Regions from separate parts of the Homo sapiens genome. Here region 2 is linked to region 1. Evidence: promoter capture Hi-C in human tissues and cell types (Jung and others, 2019). All regions are on one chromosome and are shown on one strand. Each heading gives the region's core, a stretch centred on a gene start or on the middle of the fragment in contact. The rest is flanking DNA. Distances are from core to core; before and after follow the strand shown.

Evidence for each region. Contacts are between HindIII fragments. The study calls those that stand out against the background at their distance.
Region 2: a contact is called between the fragment with the promoter of PHLDB3 here and the fragment with the promoter of CADM4 in region 1, in 8 of the 25 tissues and cell types used here (IMR-90 fibroblasts, adrenal gland, aorta and 5 more).

The regions. Positions count from the first base shown.
Region 1 is chr19:43,635,997-43,641,838 of GRCh38, forward strand. CADM4 (cell adhesion molecule 4) reads right to left here and starts at 3,854. Exons shown (of 9, transcript NM_145296.2): 1 at 3,731-3,854. The coding sequence starts at 3,794. RefSeq lists a silencer at 3,738-3,877. The HindIII fragment of the contact is 16,381 bases long and covers 1-5,842 here.
Region 2 is chr19:43,501,099-43,506,970 of GRCh38, forward strand. It overlaps PHLDB3 (pleckstrin homology like domain family B member 3), which reads right to left and starts at 3,648. Exons shown (of 16, transcript NM_198850.4): 1 at 3,491-3,648; 2 at 2,808-3,034; 3 at 1,003-1,185; 4 at 636-773. The coding sequence starts at 3,020. ETHE1 (ETHE1 persulfide dioxygenase) reads right to left here. Exons shown (of 7, transcript NM_014297.5): 7 at 5,621-5,804. The coding sequence ends at 5,752. RefSeq lists an enhancer at 2,784-3,306 and silencers at 2,935-3,184, 3,785-3,844. The HindIII fragment of the contact is 32,375 bases long and covers 1-5,872 here.

The DNA.
Region 1 (5,842 bases), core at 2,604-5,103:
AGTCCAGGCCCCCAGACCCTCCTCCATCAGACCCAGGAGTCCAGGCCCCCAGCCCCTCCTCCATCAGATCCAGCCCCTCCTCTCCTGAAAACTTTTGACTCTAACTCCCCAGTCCTCAACCCCTAGAAGCACAGTCCTGCCTTTCCTCAATCCTCTGTCCCCTCCCATCTGGGGACCTAGGCATCAGGTGGGGGCGTAGGGGTGAGTCAGCAACCTCACACACAAAGTCCCCGCTGTGGCCCCCACATTCCTGGGATATTCGGGACTCCCTGGATTCCAGGCCTCAGGCCCAGCCAGGGAGTGGGGAGTCCCCCAGAGGTCCTCCCTGGGTGTGGGGTACGAGAGGAATTCCTGCTCCGGGAAGGGTGCAGGCCTGCACTGAGCTCCCTCTGTCCGAACCTCCACGCCCAGTGCCCTCTATTCACCCCCTCTTCCCAGAAGAGCCCAGGCTCAGCACCTGCCCCTTGCCCCACTGGGTGCCCACGGAGGAGCCTGCGTGCCTGCTCCCTATGGGCCTGGGGTCTGCACAGGCGGAAATCAGTGGGTGCTTCCGTTCTGATGCCACAGGCCATTGGATGCTGGCGGGTCTGACTGTCTCCAGGCCACCCCCCACCCCTCCCAGAGAGAGAAAGCTGCCTTTGTGTTCTCCAAGATGGGGACAGGCCAGGCTCGCACGACATTAACCCAGCCTTAGGCCCCAGCCCTGCTGTGTCTAAGGTCTTGGAATCCACTGCAGAACCTGACCCCCACCCCCAGGCTCTGGGGACACAGGCGCCTGGCTCATGGGTGGGTGGGTGGGGGGGTCAGTGATAGAAACCTCCAAAACCTGTTCCTTGGGGTGACTCACAATGGAGGGAGGGTCCCCCTATTCTCAAGAGTGGCTGGTCAGAATTTTAGCAGGAAAAAGTGAGTCACCCTGGGAAGGAAACATTATTTAGGGACCAACAACTGCCCCCTCCACAAGACCCCTCAACTCCTAATAGCCTCTCTATTCTTTCTTTGTATTGGATATCTGTTTCCTCTCCTCCTTTCTGTTCTACCCAGTTTCTGGCTGCGGGTCCCATTTCTGCCTGGGTGCATCCCTGGGCAGGCAACCCATCCCTCCCTCTTGCTTTCTCTCCTCTGCCCACCCTGGATCCTTCTTTGGGCATAAATCTCATCTTCTTCTGCTATGCTCAGAAGATGAATGAACCAGGAGAGAGAGAACATGTTTTTAAAATGGCGCAAATGCACCCCATCTCCCCCGATTCCTGCTGGCTGGGCAAGGTGAGAGAGGAAGAAGTGACTAAGAGAGAAATGTGGGAACAACAGATACCCCCTAAAATGTGGTAGCCAAGGCCACTGAGAAATATCCAATGGAAAGGAGAGCAGGAAGGGCCCTCCAAGACCACATGCTACAGCCTCCTACCCCATGCTTTACAGAACGGGAAAGTAAGGCCCAGAGAGGGACAAGGACTGATGCAAAATTATACTAAAGGGTCCTGGGTAAGGCTTGGACCCAAGTTCCTTAGCTCCCAGCTGAGAGCTCTTCCCATGACACCAAGCTCAGTTTCTACTGGTAAAAGCCACATACTATTTACTTTAGAGAAAGTTTACAGAGAGGGTTAGGGTGCCAGGAAGCAGTGACTTGGAAATCAAACGAGGGACAGGGCTGTAGACCTAACTCCCAGAAGCACCAGAGAAAGGCTTTTGCACGGGGCGGGTGGTCACCTTAAGCTATATTCTGATCCTGAGAATTCAAAGTCTGATGATTCTAAGCTGTCAGGATTCTAAATGTCATAGATGTCAAGATCCAGGAACTCCAAGACATCAAGATTTCACGATTTTTAAGACGTCAAGATGCTAGCATGCTAACACCATCACGGTTCTAGAACTTTAAAGGTGTCAAGATTCTAAAGCCTTCTGGATTCTAGAATCCTGTAGATGTCAGCATTCTAAAGTACCATCAGGTTCTTTATTTACTGGATTCATTAGTTCCAGGATTCTATGAGCCTGGTGTTTAGCCTAAAAAATAAAGATAAATTAAAATTGATGGAAATGTCACTGAGGTACCAAAGTTCTCATCTGGGAAATTGTGGCATGTCTGTTGTAAAGAAAGGAGGTAATGATGCAAGTTCTAAAGCAGTCACAGAAGACTAGAGAAGAAAGAAAGACAGTGAGAGGACAGCTTTGCCCCTCATCCTGGCCGAGGTGAGGATGGCTCTGCCTCAAACCCTGGAGTGGGGAACATGTAACCGCACTCAACTTGCCAGAAACCCCTTCACGGTCTGAGCTGGCGTTCCCTTTCATGTCACTGAGTTCAACATCCTCACTTTACAGAAAGAGAAACAGAAGCCTGGAGAGAGGAAGGTGTTTACCATTGGCTGCGATGGCAAATGGCAAGAGCCAAGATTTAAGCCCAGGCCGCCAGCCCCATGCCACCTGGTTATAACTCCTCTCACCAATCTCTGCCGAACACCCAGCCCTCCTGCTTCTGCCTAGCCACCTTCCAATCCTCTGTTCCTTCCAAAAGTGGCCTTATCCACCAGGGAGGGGTGACCCGTGGCAGGTTCAAGACTTACACAGTGTGAGAGTGTGTGTGGGTGACATTTCCTGACCTTGTCCCCATTCTCAGGGTCACCCAACCTCGGGGGTCTCCAGCTTCTCACAGTGTGTGATGAGGGTATGTGGATGGCTCCCTGGATGTCCTGGACAGGGGCTTCTCTGTGAGTCAAGCCTGGGTGTGTGAATGGGTGAGCAGGGTTTGGAGAGGCATTCGCTGAATCCACGTGTGTGCCTACACGCCAAGGTCCCCCATTCTCACTTCCCCACACACATGCACACAGATGTTCCCCTCCAGGGCTCTTTAGAATGCCCTGCCTGACTGAATTCCTCTTCAGGGGCACAGAGGGATAGAGAGAGGGAGGAAGGTAGGATGGGAATGGGAGATCCCGGGATGGAGGCTGTAAGCGTAGAGAGAGGAGGCACAGCAGAAAGACAGGGATGGAGATAGTGGGACAGAGAAGGGGGAAAGAGACAGGTGACAGAAAGGGTTAGAGAAACGAGTGACAGAAAGACAGGGGACAGAGACAAGGGGATGGGGCAGATAGGGGACAGAGAAAAAGGGACAGAAAAACAAGGGTGACAGCGAGACAGAGACAGGGACCAAGAATAGGGGCAGAGAGGGAGGGCAGAAATCCGGGGGAAAGAGAATAGACAGGATGATGGAGGGGACAGAGTGACCCAGGAAAAGGGGACAGAGACCAGGGGACAGAGGTAGGGGACAAAGACAGAATAGATGAGGAACACCGAGGCAAGAAGAGAGGGAGACAGACAGAAGGAGGGACAGGACTTCGAGACTGAGGGATAGAGGACAAGGGTAGGGGGACGAGGAGCCAGACGGGGGGGTTCAGAGACGGGCGGACAGAGGGACGCAGAGACTGGACAGAAGGACAGCGGGACCGGCCTGGGGAGGGCGGACTTGTGTGTGTAGGGGGGTCTCGGGCCCTTTGTCCCCGCCGGGATCCAGCCTGCGCGGGTGGGGGGGCTGCGGCACGGCGGCCGGGCCCCGCGCCCCCTCCCCCGCTCGTCGCTCCCGGCTCCCGGCCCGCGCTGCGCTTTGTCCCGGGGAGGGGGCCCGGCCCGGCCCCGCGCGCATTGTTCGGCCTCTGCGGCCCCGAGGCTGCCGGGCTGTCACCACAGCGCGCCCCCCGCCCCAGCCCGGCCGGCCGACCCCGGCCCCCGACCCTACCTGGCCCCGCCGCGGCCGCCCACAGCAGCAGCAGCGGCCACTGGAAGCGCCGGGCCCGGCCCATGGTGCCGCCGCCGCCGCCGCCGCCGCTCGCTCCCGGCCCGGCACCTGCACCGCCCGCGCCGCCCGCCCCGCCCCCCGCGCCCCGCCCCCTGCCCGCCCGGGGGCGGGGCGCCGAGGCCGGGGCGGGGCCGGGGAGGGGAGGGGGAGACGGAGGAGAGGCCCGGAGACAATCGGGGGGACGGCACGGTGGGGGAACGGTGCGGGGTGCGAAAGCTGGAGAGGAGAGGGGTGAGGAGGGCGGGAAGGGGTGCGCGGGAGGGCGACAGCGGCGTGGGAGCAGGTGGGGGATCTCGGTGAGCGCGGGAAATGGAGGGTGTTGGGTGAGGGTGCTGCGTGCGGGCCCAGGTGCTGCGCGCGAGGGTGCGGAGTTGCTGGCATGCAGGGTGCTTGCGCTGCGCGGAGGGGAGGGTGGCAGGGTGTTGCTGGAGGCTGTGCGAGGGTGGGGGCGCGGGCGTCGTGGGGTGCGGTGTGTGCGAAGGGAGAGCGTGGCCAGCGTGACGGGGGAGCGTAAGGGAGGGAGTGCGACGTGGGAAAGGTGAGTGTGAGAGGCGTGCTGCGGGCAGGTGGGTGTCTGGAGTCTAGCGAGAGGCTGTGAGCTGAGCCACCGGGACAGGGGAGGCTGCAGCTGGAGGTCCGGAGGGTCCGGAGGTCGAGGCAGGTCAAGGATCTCCCAGGGCAGGGCGAGGCTGGGGCTCAGGAGTGGGGTGGGGTCAGTTCCCTCCCTCCCTCTCTCCTGTCCTGACCTGAAAACCCCGTGTTTCCGCGTCATTCTCCGGGAGGGGCCCCCTGAAAGTGAACTAACTGGAAGGAAGCCTGAATCCTGGGTCCCAGGAGGGAGAGGCTCCTGTGAACACCTTCCAAGCCCTGGCGTCCCCTCTCCTCCCTGCTGTCTCCCTGCCCCAGCCTCTCTCCCTCTCTCTGCATGTATTTGCCTCTGCCCTTCCTCTCTCCCCATCTTTGAGGGTGACTCACCCCTCCAGACTTAGGTCCCTTCTCCCTCCTGGGAGTGGGTTTCCCTGAGCCCACTTCTGTGACACCCTGTAGACCTGATGCGGGATCATTACCTATGGGACCCAGAAAGAGTGAGAAACCATGGAAAGAAGGCCTCGACCTCTCTCATGCCCATTTGTCAGGCAAACTGAGGTCCAGAAGTGCCAATTATGAACATCTTTCCTTCCCCCCTCCCCCCTCCCCGCCCAGACGGAGTCTCGCTCTGTTGCCCAGGCTGGAGTGCAGTGGCACGATCTCGACTCACTGCAACCTCTGCCTCCCAGGTTCCAGTGATTCTCCTGCCTCAGCCTCCCGAGTAGCTGAGATTACAGGCGCCCGCCACCATGCCTAGCTAATTTTTATATTTTTAGTAGAGACGGAGTTTTGCCATGCTGGCCAGGCTGGTCTTGAACTCCTTACCTCAGGTGATCCATCTGTCTGGCCTCCCAAAGTGCTGGATTACAGGCGTGAGCCACCATGCCTGGCTGAAAATCCTTACTTTTTATTCCGACTAAAAAATTTTACATCCAGTCCCACAAGGGACTTCAGCTTCACACACCCTTTCTGTCCTCAGTACCCAGCTCCCAGTATCCTTTCTGACCTCAAAACCATAGCTACCATCAACCCTTGTGTCCCAGGACCATGGCTCCCAGTGTCTTCTCTGTCCTCAGGGTCCAAGCTCCCATCAACTCCTGTGTCCTCAGGACCACGGCTCCCAGCATCCTCTCTGTCCTTCAGGTCCAAGCTCCCATCAACCCCTGTGAAGCAGGACCATGGCTCCCAGCATCCTCTCTGTCCTCAGGGTCCAAGCTCCTATCAACTCCTGTGTCCCCAGGACGATGGCTCCAGCAATCCTCTCTGTCCTGAGAGCCCAAGCTTCTAACTGCCCCTGTGTCCCCAGATCCATAGCCCTGAGCAACTTCCTTCTTTTTCAGTCCTCAGCTTCCCAGCTTCTGTAGACTTGGGAAGAGATAGTCTCTAATCCTCTTTCCAGGGCTCACATTCTGTGACTTTTGCTAGATGGGAGAGGAATGTTTGATCTGCCTTTGGAATACTGGT
Region 2 (5,872 bases), core at 2,398-4,897, 140 kb before region 1:
ATTGATGAAGCTGGTGGGCACAGGACATGGGAGCTGCCTGACTATTGTGGGGTGGGTTTGGAAGTTTTCTTTTTCTCTTTTTTTTTTTTTTTTTTTTTTGAGACGGAGTCTCCTTCTTGTCACGCAGGCTGCTGGAGTGCAATGGTGCGATCTTGGCTCACTGCAACCTCCATCTCCCGGATTCAAGCGATTCTCCTGCCTCAGCCTCCCAAGTAGCTGGGACTACAGGCGCCCGCCACCACGCCCTGCTAATTTTTGTATTTTTAAGCAGAGACGGGGTTTCGCCATGTTGCCCAGGCTGGTCTCAAACTCCTGAGCTCAGGCAATCCGCCCGCCTCGGCCTCCCAAAGTGCTATGATTACAGGCGTGAGCCACTGCTTCCGGCCAGTTTGGAAGTTTTTACACACCCACATTTAAATAGCAAACGGACAGGGGACAAAGGAAGAGCCCCAAAAATCTCGCCCAGGGAGGGAGAAGGAAAACCAGGAGGGGCATCTGCCCCTCACTCTCTCAGGAGCCCAAATGTCTTCCTTTGGGGAATGGGGACAACCCCGGGGCGCAGGTGGCTAGGAGCACACCAACATCCATGGACCAGGAAGGACACTGCTGATGAAGACCCGGTGAGCCAAACAGACCTGTTCCCGCTGCTGGCGGCCGCGCTGCTCCGAGGCCGCCTGCTGCTCCAGCAGCTCCCGCAGCTGCTCCTCCTCCCGGCGAGCGGCCACTCGCTCCCCAGCCAGCTCACCCCGCAGCAAGGCCACCTCCACCTCCATCTGCGGAGAGAATGCCAGGGCTGGGGGCTCGGACGCCTAGGTCCAAGGAAGAGGCCCAGGGCCTGAACTACCGGATTCGAAGGGAGGATGGACTCCAGGGACCTGAATTTGGAGGGAGGAAGAGCGGAGGGCCTAAAATCTGATCCCACCCGAGGAAAAAGCTGGGAGTCCGGCTTTGCGGGTTCCGCTTGAGTTGGGGCCAGGCTTCCCAAGGGGTCCGCAGCCTCACCTCGATCCTCAGCTCCTTCCTCTGGCGCTGTAGCTCCTTCACTCGCTGCTCCATCAGGGCCACACGAGTCAATGCCTCCAGCTGCTGTCCTTGCAGGCGCCGCGCCGCCCCTCGCACCCCTTCCCGCGAAGAGGTGGATGCGGGAGGTGTGGCCGCCATAGCTATCGGAGGCGTAGCCTCGGGCTGAAGTTGAGGGGGGCGTGGTTAAGTGGAGATGCCTCGCCCCCTGCAATCACTAAGTAGGTCTGGTCCCCACCCAACATCACCCTCTGCGGGTCTCAGTCCATCAGTCCACTTACCTAACACAACCACCACTCCCATAATCTGTCGCAGGCTCTTTTCTTTTTCTTTCTTATCTTTTTTTTTTTTTTGTCCTGAGATAGGGTCTCACTGGCTGGAGTGCAGTGGCGCGATTACGGCTCACTGCAGCATCGACCTCCCTCGCTCAAGCGATTCTTCTGCCTCATCCTCCTAGGTAGCTGTGACTACAGGCGCGCACCGCCACGCCAAGCTCTTTTTTTTTTTTTTTTTTTTTGGCAGAGAGGGGGCGATGCTATGTTGCCCAGGCTGGTCTCAAACTCCTAGGCTCAAGGGATTCTCCCACCTCGGCCTCCCAAAGTGCTACGATTACAGGCATAAGCCACCGCGCCCGGCCTCAGACCCCTGTATTTAAGGTCGGAGTGGGGGAGGGTGCAAGTCCCGTGACCACCCAACCACACGGACCACAGAGGCTTGCAGTACCGTATGGAGGGTGAGCAGGTGTAAAGCCGACTTATGAAAGGTGTTTCTTTTTCTCTATCAGGTCCTATTCTCTTGGCGTCACTTTCTTGTAGTGCCTGGATCTGTCTCTGTCTCTCCACCTGACCCCAGTCTCTCAGATTCGGTATCTGTCCACTAGATCTGTCCACTAGAATCACTAGATCTTTCTTCCTCGGAGTATGTCCCTCTCTCGAGGTTTTTGTCTATTTGTTTCTCTGAGCATCTCTGCCATTTATTTCTGGGTTTCCCTCTGTCTCGATTCCCCTCTCTCTGACTCTAGTCTCACTGTGTCTCTGTCTTTTTGGGGTCTTTGTCTCTCAGTCTCCATGTCTCTGGGTCTCTGTCTGGCTTCTTGATCTCTCTGCATCTCTTACTCGTTTGGTTCTCTCTGTTCTGTAGTCTCTCCTGTCTGTCTATCTGGTCTCTCTCTCTCTCTCTCTCTCTCTCTCTCTCTCTCATTTTTAGAGATAGGTTCTGCTTTGTCCCAGGCTGGGGTGCAGTGGCGCAGTCATAGTTCACCGCAGCCTACAACTCCTGGGCTCAAGCGATCCTCCTGCCTCAGCCTCCCGAGTAGCTGGGATTACAGGCACGCGGCACTGCGCTTGGACAATTTTTGTATTTTTTTTTTCTCTAGAGACAGGGATTTGCTATGTTGCCCAGACTTGTCTCGAACTCCTGGGCTTAAGCAATCCTCCCCTCGGCCTCCCCAAGTGCTGGGATTACAGGCGTGAGCCACCTATCTGGTTCCTCTATACTAGTCTCTCTGTCTCTGTCGCCCGTTTGGGTCTATCTCCGTTCTTGGGGCCTCCCCGTGGCTCTATCTGGTTTCTGTCTCTGTATCTGGTTTCTGTCTGTCTGTGCCTCTGCCTCTCTGGCTCCGTGTCCTGGTGTATCTCTCTCTCAGTAGTCTCTGCTATCACTCGGTCTCTCTCCCTGTCTCCGGGTCTCTGTCTTTCTGGTTTCCCTCTACCTGTCTACCTGTCTGGCCACCTGTTTGGGTCCCCGTCGGTCCAAGCCCCCCGCGCTGTCGCCCTCGGGCCCCTCACCGCGTCGCGGCTGCTCTCAGTGCTGCTGCCTTCTCCCACTTCTTCTTCCTCTGCCTGCTGCTCAGCTCCCCCGCGGCTCGAAGGTTCCGCCAGGACTTCGGATGCCTCCTGTTCCCGGGACTCCTCGGGATGGCCCTGGGGCTGGACCTCCACGTCGCATTCCGGGACCAGCGGCGGCGGGGTCCCCTCCTCGGGGCTGCTTCGCGTCCCCATGGCCGCTGGGACTCCTGCGGGGTGGGCGGGACCAGAAGCTCCGGGGGCGGGGCCTAGGACGGCTGAGCGCCGCTCGCGTCTGCTCCGGGGCGCGGAGACCCCCCCCCAAGGAGGCGGGGCCTAAGAGTTCAAAGGATGGAACTGAGCGTTACGGAGGCGTGTCCTGAAGTTTCCAGAGGCGGGGCTTGATGGCTCCAAGGCGACACGCCACCGGAGACGGGACCGGAATTTGAGTCCGGGTCGTAGCACGCCCCCTACTGACCTCTTCGACCCCGCCTCCCCTCCCTCATCTCTAGGTGTCAGGCCTTGTACCCTCCCAGCAGCCCCCTACAATCTCTTGGATTCGCTTAGAGCGACCCATCTTCTCCCTCCGAGACTCAGCAGTTCGGCTCCCGCCCCATCCTTCCCGGAGCCCCGTAGTCTTAGTCCCGACCCCACTGTGCAGGGCAACCGTGCCCACGCCGCCTCACCCAGGGATCCAGGAGTCGGGGCTCTCCTTCTCTGAACAAGCCAGGAGTCGGAGTCCTTGAGATTCCGAAGTCCAACTGCCACCTCCCCACAGCCTCGGCCCCCTCACGAGCTCAGGCTTCGGCGCGCTCCGCTCTGCGCGCTGGGCACGGCCGCTTCTGCCTATGAGACAGGTGGCAGGGGAAGAGGGAGGAGAGAGGCCGCCCGGTCCCCCTCCCCAGCAGCCCGGAAGTGGAGGGGGGACAACAGGTCCAACAGCTCCCGAGGGAGGAGGGAGCCACGGGCTTGCCCCACCCGTGGCCTCGGCATCCGGCCATCCCGGCCCCACCGGCCCCGGCCCGGCCCCACCCTCGTGGAACTCAGCATCGCGACCTCCCAGTCTCCCTCGAGCCCCTCATTCCTGCCCCCCTGGAGGAGTCTTGGCCACCTCTGTATGGGAGCCTCTCTAATGTCCAGACCTTGGGAGTTCAGAAAGGAAGGCAGGAATGGAGATGGGGACGTCTCCCCTCTAATGAGCCCTTCAGAAGGGCCCTGACCGGTTTGGGGAGCTGGACAAGGGGAAGGGGTGCCCTGAACTGAGTCAGACACCTGCCCAGAGACTGAGGGAAGTGTACCGCCACCCCCCCACAACTTTGCTATGGGGTGGAGGGCAGAGGTTAAAGGTCTCAGCCAGACCCTTTCCTCTCTGGGCGAAAACAGGAAAATGAAAACAGGAAAATAACTGGTATATGAAAAGGGATGATTAGAAGTCAAGAGCTGTGTGAAACACTTTATACCCAGTCATTTAATTTCACCCTCAAAGCTGTCCAGCGAGAAAGTGATTACTACCTCCATTTCTTTTTTTTTAGTAGAGACTGGGTTTCTCCAGGTTGCCCAGGCTGATCTTGAACTCCTGGGCTCAAACAACCTGCCTGCCTCAGCCTCCCAAAGTGTTGAGATTACAGGCGTGAGCCACCGCTCCTGGCCTACTATCTCCATTTTACACTTGGGGATACAAGCTGAGGAGGACAAATGCACCCAAGGTTGGCTGGGCACAGAGGCTCAGGCCTGTAATCCCAGCACTTTGGGAAGCCGAGGCAGGTGGATTGCTTGAGATCAGGAGTTCAAGGCCAGCCTGGGCAACATGGAGAAACCCCATCTCTACTAAAAATACAAAAATTATGCCAGGCGTGGTGGCACACACCTGTCATCTCAGCTACTCCAGAGGCTGAGGCAGGAGGATATCTCGAGCCCAGGAGGTCGAGGCTGCAGTGAGTCTTGAATGTGCCACTGCACTCCAGCCTGGGCGACAGAGTAAGACCCCATCTCAGAAAAAAAAAAAAAAATGTAGCCAACATCTACACATGTTGTAAGTGGTAAAATGCAGGCTTCATTCTCTCAAAAGTCCATGTTCTTAACCATTGCGTATACTGTCACTACAAGCCAGGAAGTACCCAAAAGATCATTCTAAATGATAGTAACTTTAATGGTGAACACTGATAGGCCATGTGCCAGGCACTCACACACATTGACTCATCAGAGCATCACAACACCCCATTATTATTCCTTCCATTTTAGAGATAAGAAAACTGAGGCCTAGAGAAGTGAAGTAACTTACCCCAGGGCTAAGTGGGAAGTGGCTCAAAAGCAAGCCGGTGTTCTAATCCAAGGTGATGAGAAGACCTGCCCCAGATAGCTGTGTTTGTTTTTGATCTTGTGAGTTAGAAATCTTGTGGGCTCCCGGGCTGGGCGCGGTGGCTCACACCTGTAATCCCAGCACTTTGGGAGGCCGAGGCTGGTGGATCACGAGGTCAGGAGATCAAGATCATATTGGCTAACATGGTCAAACCCTGTCTCTACTAAAAATATGAAAAAATTAGCCGGGCATGGTGGCACGCGCCTGTAGTCCCAGCTACTTGGGAAGCTGATGCAGGAGAATCGCTTGAACCCGGGAGGCAGAGGTTGCAGTGAGCCGAGATCGTGCCACTGCACTCCAGCCTGGGCAATGGAGGGAGACTCCATCTCAAAAAAAAAAAGAAAAGAAAAAGAAAACAAATCTTGCAGGCTCCCTGGCCTCTCCATAGGACCAGAACCCCACCCCTTTCGGCCCAGAAACCCAATTGGTTCCCCCAGAAAATAGGTAGAAGTCAGACTCACGTTAAAAAAAGTTTTATTTAGGGAGCTCCAGGGAATGCGGTGGGAAAGGAGAGGTGCAGTGTCATTGCCGCCCTCTCCTCCCACCTAGTGCATTAATAGTGGATGGGAGCATCTGACAGAAGTGAGATCAGGCAGTGGGTGTCTGCACCCCACAGCGCATGTTGGCTGGAACAGCAAAGTCTGAAAGGAAGAAATCAAGGTTAAAACTAAGGGGCCTAGGTAGAGTTCCAGGCCCCACTGGAGACCCA